Regions from separate parts of the Homo sapiens genome. Here region 1 is linked to region 2. The links are contacts of gene promoters, found by promoter capture Hi-C in blood cells and fetal thymus (Javierre and others, 2016). All regions are on one chromosome and are shown on one strand. Each heading gives the region's core, a stretch centred on a gene start or on the middle of the fragment in contact. The rest is flanking DNA. Distances are from core to core; before and after follow the strand shown.

Region 1 (3,026 bases), core at 472-2,971, 910 kb before region 2:
ACAGTGGCTCACACCTGTAATCCCAGCACTTTGGGAAGCCAAGGCAGAAGGATCGTTTGAGCCCAGGAGTTTGAGACCAGCCTGGCAACATGGCAAAACCCCACCTGTACAAAAAATAGAAAAATTAACTGGGTGTGGTGGCATGCACCTGTGGTCCCAACTACTCAGAAAGCTGGGGTGGGAGGATCGCCTGAGCCTAGGAGGTCGAAGCTGCAGTGGGCCAAGATTGTGCCACCGCACTCCAACCTGGATATCAGAGTGAAACCATGTCTCAAAAAAGAAAAAAGAATTTAAAAAGAATTTCACTCAGGGTTACAGACACTTAATGTTATTAAGACCCACTAGGAACACCTGTGTATACTGCTGGCTGGTTTTACATGTCACCCCACCCTGAGCAGGTTTCTCTAGGCAGCAATAAAGCTTCTGAGGCAGAGGAAGGGAGAAACCAACACACCTGCCTTTATTTTCCATTTGTTCTCCTTGCATCCAGTTTTCACCACACTTCCCCATGCTTTCACTACAGTTCTGCCAGGCTCCTCTCAGGCAATCTCTTTACACCAGGGGCCACATAATCCTAAAGAGGGAAGGGAAGATAGCATCAAACTTTCACCCAATTATTTCAGGCAATCCATCTCCTTCCCTCCTCCTTGCTTGCTTGCTTCCTTGCTTAAAAAATGCAGAATAGGCCGGGCACGGTGGCTTACACCTGTAATCCCAGCACTTTGGGAGGCCGAGGCGGGCGGATCACGAGGTCAGGAGATGAAGACCATCCTGGCTAACATGGTGAAACCCCGTCTCTACTAAAAATACAAAAAATTAGCTGGGCGTGGTGGCGGGTGCCTGTTGTCCCAGCTACTTGGGAGGCTGAGGCAGGAGAATGGTGTGAACCTGGGAGGTGGAGCTTGCAGTGAGTCGAGATCATGCCACTGCACTCTAGCCTGGACGACAGAGTGAGATTCTGTCTCAAAAAATAAATAAATAAGAAAGACATGAAATATATTAAATATATAAATGAGCTTTCACCTCGTCATAACTTTTAAGTTAAATTAGACAAAGAGCCAATGCTATTCTATTCGAGAACCTTTGAAGTGCTCAGATGCTGCTTACACTCATCAGAAAAATACTCCATCTTATTAAATGTGAGGCCTGAAGAAAACCTAGTGTTAAAGAAAATCAATTAAAGATAAATAAAACAGAGGGGCAAAGCCCCGTTCACCAGCTTGGGTTCAGATGAAGCTCCCCCGACAGCCACTACTCCTGTGCTGTTGCAGGCTATTGTAACGGGGGTTCCACGTCATCCAGGCCACAGGCCAAGCCTTGGATGCACCTGCTCTTTGCCCAGCTGCCCCAGGGCAGAGCTCTGCACAGATCACAGTGCCTTAAGACAGGATGATAACACCCCTCAGTGTTTTCCTTAGAGTGCTCCATGCACCACAGCCATTTTTCAAAGCATCCCCCAGGCCAGGGTTAAGGCAGAACAGGTTTTCCAGTCATAGCCTCCCACTTAGCTGAGTAACATTTCTTGAGTGATCTTGTAAATGAATAGTTTGAAAGAAAAACAGGCAACTAAGGCAGTGCGGTCACATTGTTTGAGAATACAGATGCAAAATTACTTGTGAATTTACTTGCTCATTTTTCCAAAGGATGTAATCTGTACACTTAGAAGTATTTCACTCACATGGGGCTCTTTGTAGCAACACAAACCGAACAAGCTATTTCTGAAACTCATATTTAACTGTGATTTGATATCATCTTGATTTTCTTAATTTTTTTTAAAATTGTGATAAAATACACAACATAATATTTACCATCTTAACCATTTTTAAATGTACAGTTCAGTGGCAGTGAGTACATTCACATTGTTATATAACAATCACTACCCTCCAGCTCCAGAATCTTTTCAACTTGCAAAACGGAAATACTGACACATTAAACAGTAACTCCCATTTCCCCTTTCCCCCAGTGCCTGGCAACCACCATTTACTTTCTGTCTCTATGAATTTTACTACTCTAGACACCTTATAGAGTGGAATTGCTCAGTATTATTCTTTACTGACTGGCTTCTTTCACTTAGCGTAGTGTTTTCTGGCTCATCCGTGTCATGGCATGTGGCAGTATTTCTTTCGCCCGGGCACTTTGGGAGGCTAAGATGGAGAGGCTGAGAGTTGAAGACCAGCCTGGGTAACATTGCAAGACCCCCATCTCTACAAGAAAATTAAAAAGGCTTGAGCCCAGGAGATTGAGCCTGCAGTGAGCCATGATCATGCCCCTGCACTCCAGCCTGGGGAAAGAATGATACCCTGTCTCAAAGAAAAAAAAAAGAATTTCCTTCCTTTTAAAAAGATGGAATTATATTCTATTGTATGTATATACCACATTTTGTTTATCTGCAGATGGGCCCTTGGATTGTTTCTACCTTTTGTATCAGTGTGTGTGTGTGTGTGTGTGTGTGTGTGTGTGTGTGTGTGTGTGTGTGTATTTCTAGAAACTTGTTATTCTCCTGAGTGTTAAACTGTTTTAAATGTTTGGTTTTTCATTTCTAGAACATTTTCCTATCCTAAAATTTACCTATCTGGCTATCTATCATCTATCACTTTTCCTAAGGATCTTTAGTTGTTTACTTTTTAATGAAGTATAATATACGTTATGATAGTGTATTTTATGTATCCTCATATCCTTTCACTGTGGATTTAATTTTTAGAAATAACAAAAAGTCACATAGGGCAAATTCATTAAGCTGAGTGGGTGATTAAGTTAACAATAGTAATGACCATGTATTAAGTGCCTACTATGTGCCAGGCACTGTGCTAGCATTTCACACCCATTATATCATTCAGTCTTCACACCCCTGTTTGGTGGTTATTAATGATTACTAATATTCATTTTATAGATGAATAAACTGATACTCAAGGCCTTAATTGCCTTTCCTAGGGGTGCACAACTAGAAAAAAGGCAGAGCCAGATCTGCACCCAAGTCCTTCTGACCCCAGAGCTCATGCTTGTATCATCGCACCAGTGTTACTCAA
Region 2 (3,200 bases), core at 147-2,646:
GACGCAGAAGTTAAGTTACTTCCGCAAGCTTACATGACTGCTCAGGGTGAGGGTCCCTGATCATGATGATCAGAAAATAAAGGTAGAAATCAAGCTTAGGGAGGAAGTGACATTGTGTGTATATATATATATTTGTTTATTTATTTTTATTTTTATGTTTTATTTTTTTGAAACGGAGCCTAGGTCGCCCAGGCTGGAGTGCAATGGCGCGATCTCGGCTTACGGCAACCTCTGCCTCCCGGGTTCAAGTGATTCTCCTGCCTCAGCCTCCCGAGTAGCTGGGAATACGGGCGCGTGCCACCATGCCCGGCTAATTTTTTGTATTTTTAGTAGAGACGGGATTTCACCGTGTTAGCCAGGATGGTCTGGATCTCCTGACCTGGTGATCCGCCCGCCTCGGCCTCCCAAAGTGTTGGGATTACAGGCATGAGCCACCGCGCCCGGCCGGGATTGTTTTTAAGGGTTAAATAAATATACCACAGTTGGAACACTGTCTGGCACATAGTGCTTGCCAAATGGTAACTATTCATCTTCATGGAATCAAGACTGTGGTGCCCCACTGCATGGTTCTCAGTTTTGCGTGAGAAAATCGTGCTTTCTGTGCTGTTTTTAGTACAAGAAGAGAAACCTGGAAGTCCCTGCCTAGAGGAGAGAAACAGGCAAGAAAAGGGAGTTGGCGAGTCCCAGCATTTCAGAGTTGGCAGGGACGAGTTAGGTCCCTATTTTATGGATGAGGAAGTGGAAGGGTGACGTGTCCTCGAGTCTCATTCAAGACCCACAGCCACAACTCTTTATGGAGAGTAGGACCAGGGCCCCAGGGTTGCTATGATCACGTTGCAGGTGAAAACTAACGCTCATTGGAAGACAGGAGCGGAGCACTGAGTTACAAAAACAGTTAACAATTTGGGTGTAACCAAGTTTAGTGAGCAAACGAAAGCTGTCAGACTCGGAAGAAGAGTTGCTAATGGAGCGAACTCTTTACTAATAACGGCTTTCTACAGAGATCATTGACACAGCTTCCAGTTACAAATGCCCGTGCGCTTCCAGTAGGACCGGAAAGCTCCCAGCAGCCAGCGATGAATGAAAACCCGAGTCTGGGATAGCGGCGTGAGGGGCTGGGCAGCTGCCAGGCGGGGGCGGGGCAGCAGGTCACGTGCCTGGCTTCGAGGCGGGCGCCGGAGGGGGAACTCTGACCATGATTGGTTCCTCCTAACCAGGTGACCGCAGGTCGCGTTCCGGTTGGCAGGCACCGGCCAGGGCCAGCGGCCTTCAGTCGGTAGGCGGCGGCGGAAGGAGGAGGAGCTCCAGCCGCGCTCTCTCCCGGCAGTGGCTGTGCTTCACAGCGCTTGTTGGGTTCCCCACCCCTTTTAAATAAGCCGGGCTGGTCACCGCCCTCGCAGACGAGTCAGCTTAAGGGAGGCGGCGGCAGCGCGGCGGTGGGGGTGCGGCCGAGGCCCGAGCCCTGCCCGGGGCCGGGCCGCGGGGCGGGCGGGCGAACCGCGGGCGAGGCGGCGTCTGCTTGCGCGGTGCAGCCCCAGCGTAGCCCGGGGCTGCCGGTGCCGGCCGCGCCATTGTTGGGGGAGGGGGCGGCTGTTGAGGGCGGCGGAGTAGGGGGCGAGCGAAGGCGGTGGCAGAGAGGAGCGGAGGCTTCCCATGGGGAACACGCTGACCTGTTGCGTGTCCCCCAATGCCAGCCCCAAGCTGGGCCGGCGCGCGGGGTCGGCGGAGCTGTACTGCGCGTCCGACATCTACGAGGCGGTGTCCGGGGACGCGGTGGCGGTAGCGCCCGCTGTGGTGGAGCCTGCCGAGTTGGATTTCGGAGAGGGCGAGGGCCACCACCTGCAGCACATCAGCGACCGCGAGATGCCCGAAGGTAAGGAGGCGGCGGATGCCATCCGCCCTCGGGCTCACCTCTGCCCGCCTCCTCCCCCAGAGTCCCCCGGGAGGCATCCGCCGCCTCGGGCTCCTTCCTGCCGGTAGCCGGCCCCGGGACGAAGGCTGGTTCTGCCTCGCGTCCCCACCCCTTATTCTTGCCCTGCTGCGTCTGGCCAGTTTCTTTTCCTCCTCCTTACCGTAACGCCCAGTTCTTGCTCCCGCTTCCCATTCTCCCAAGCCGGCGTGGGACCCTCTAGTCCGCCGCCCTTCTTGTTTGTAGCTCTGTTCATTGTCTGGTGGGACTTTGCTAAGACTTTTGGGGTATATTGTTTTCCTTTTCTCAATGGAAACTCAAATACCTCAACTTCGGAGTACTCATCCCATTCCCTCCCTTAACCCATCCAGATGGTACCTAAGTGAAGGAACCAGGTAAGGGTCTGATTGTTCCTTCCTCCCATCCGTGAAGATAGCTGATGCCCGCGACAGTTTAGACCCAGATGTTTGAGGATTTCTTATCTAGACTCAAAATAGAGGTTGCCATAGGAGACACTATATGGTATTCCTAATAGGTTAAGTCGGCGTGAAAGAAGCTGCTTTATTCCTTCCAACTATAATTTGAACACAGAAAGAAAGAAAATGGGGGGAGGGGCGTAAAATGACTGTGAAGGGTGTGAGAGGTTATTACCAGGGGTGCAGACAAGTTGTTTTTTTGAGACGGAATCTCGTTTTGTCGCCCGCCCAGGCTGGAGTGCAGTGGCGCGATCTCGGCTCGCTGCAACCTCCGCCTCTCGGTTTCAAGCGATTCCTCTGCCTCAGCCTCCCGAGTAGCTGGGATTACAGGCGTGCGCCACCACGCCCAGCTAATTTTTGAATTTTTAGTAGAGACGGGGTTTCACCATGTTGGTCAGGCTGGTCTCTAACTCCAGAGTTCTTGATCCGCCCGCCTCGGCCTCCCAAAGTGCTGGGATTACAGGCGTGAGCCACCGCGCCCAGAGGTTGTTAACTCAAAGGAGTTTAGCCACGGAGTTCTGATTACTTTAAAATTCCCACGGTGGCAAATACATCTCCAGCCATTCTCCGGTGACTTAACAGACTTCAATACCTCCTTGTTCTAAAAGAGAGGTGGGGTGGTTCATGGTTAGAAGTTTCAAAAGAGACAAAGTATAAATTTAGACTTAATTTATAATGTAATGGTTTGGAAGTTAAAATGCTAGACCCTGCCTGCTCAAGAGTATTTGTTTCCGTGGTTCCCCTTCCTTCCTCCCAATCCTGCCAATAGAATCCTGGTCAAAGATGAGAATGTTGGGGTTCGTCAGACTCTAAAC

What was found. The method cuts DNA at HindIII sites, captures the fragments that hold promoters and counts their contacts. A CHiCAGO score of 5 or more calls a contact.
Region 1: a contact is called between a fragment that was not itself captured here and the fragment with the promoter of CCNYL1 in region 2, in 2 of 17 cell types (erythroblasts and monocytes). The highest score is 5.7, in erythroblasts.

The regions. Positions count from the first base shown.
Region 1 is chr2:206,796,233-206,799,258 of GRCh38, forward strand. No RefSeq gene overlaps it. Among named protein-coding and RNA genes, the nearest start is that of MIR3130-1, 14 kb to the left of the region's middle. The HindIII fragment of the contact is 2,607 bases long and covers 419-3,025 here.
Region 2 is chr2:207,710,244-207,713,443 of GRCh38, forward strand. CCNYL1 (cyclin Y like 1) reads left to right here and starts at 1,397. Exons shown (of 10, transcript NM_001330218.2): 1 at 1,397-1,873. The coding sequence starts at 1,654. RefSeq lists enhancers at 589-788, 799-848, 1,201-2,197 and silencers at 1,069-1,518, 1,939-2,048, 2,061-2,220. The HindIII fragment of the contact is 3,390 bases long and covers 93-3,200 here.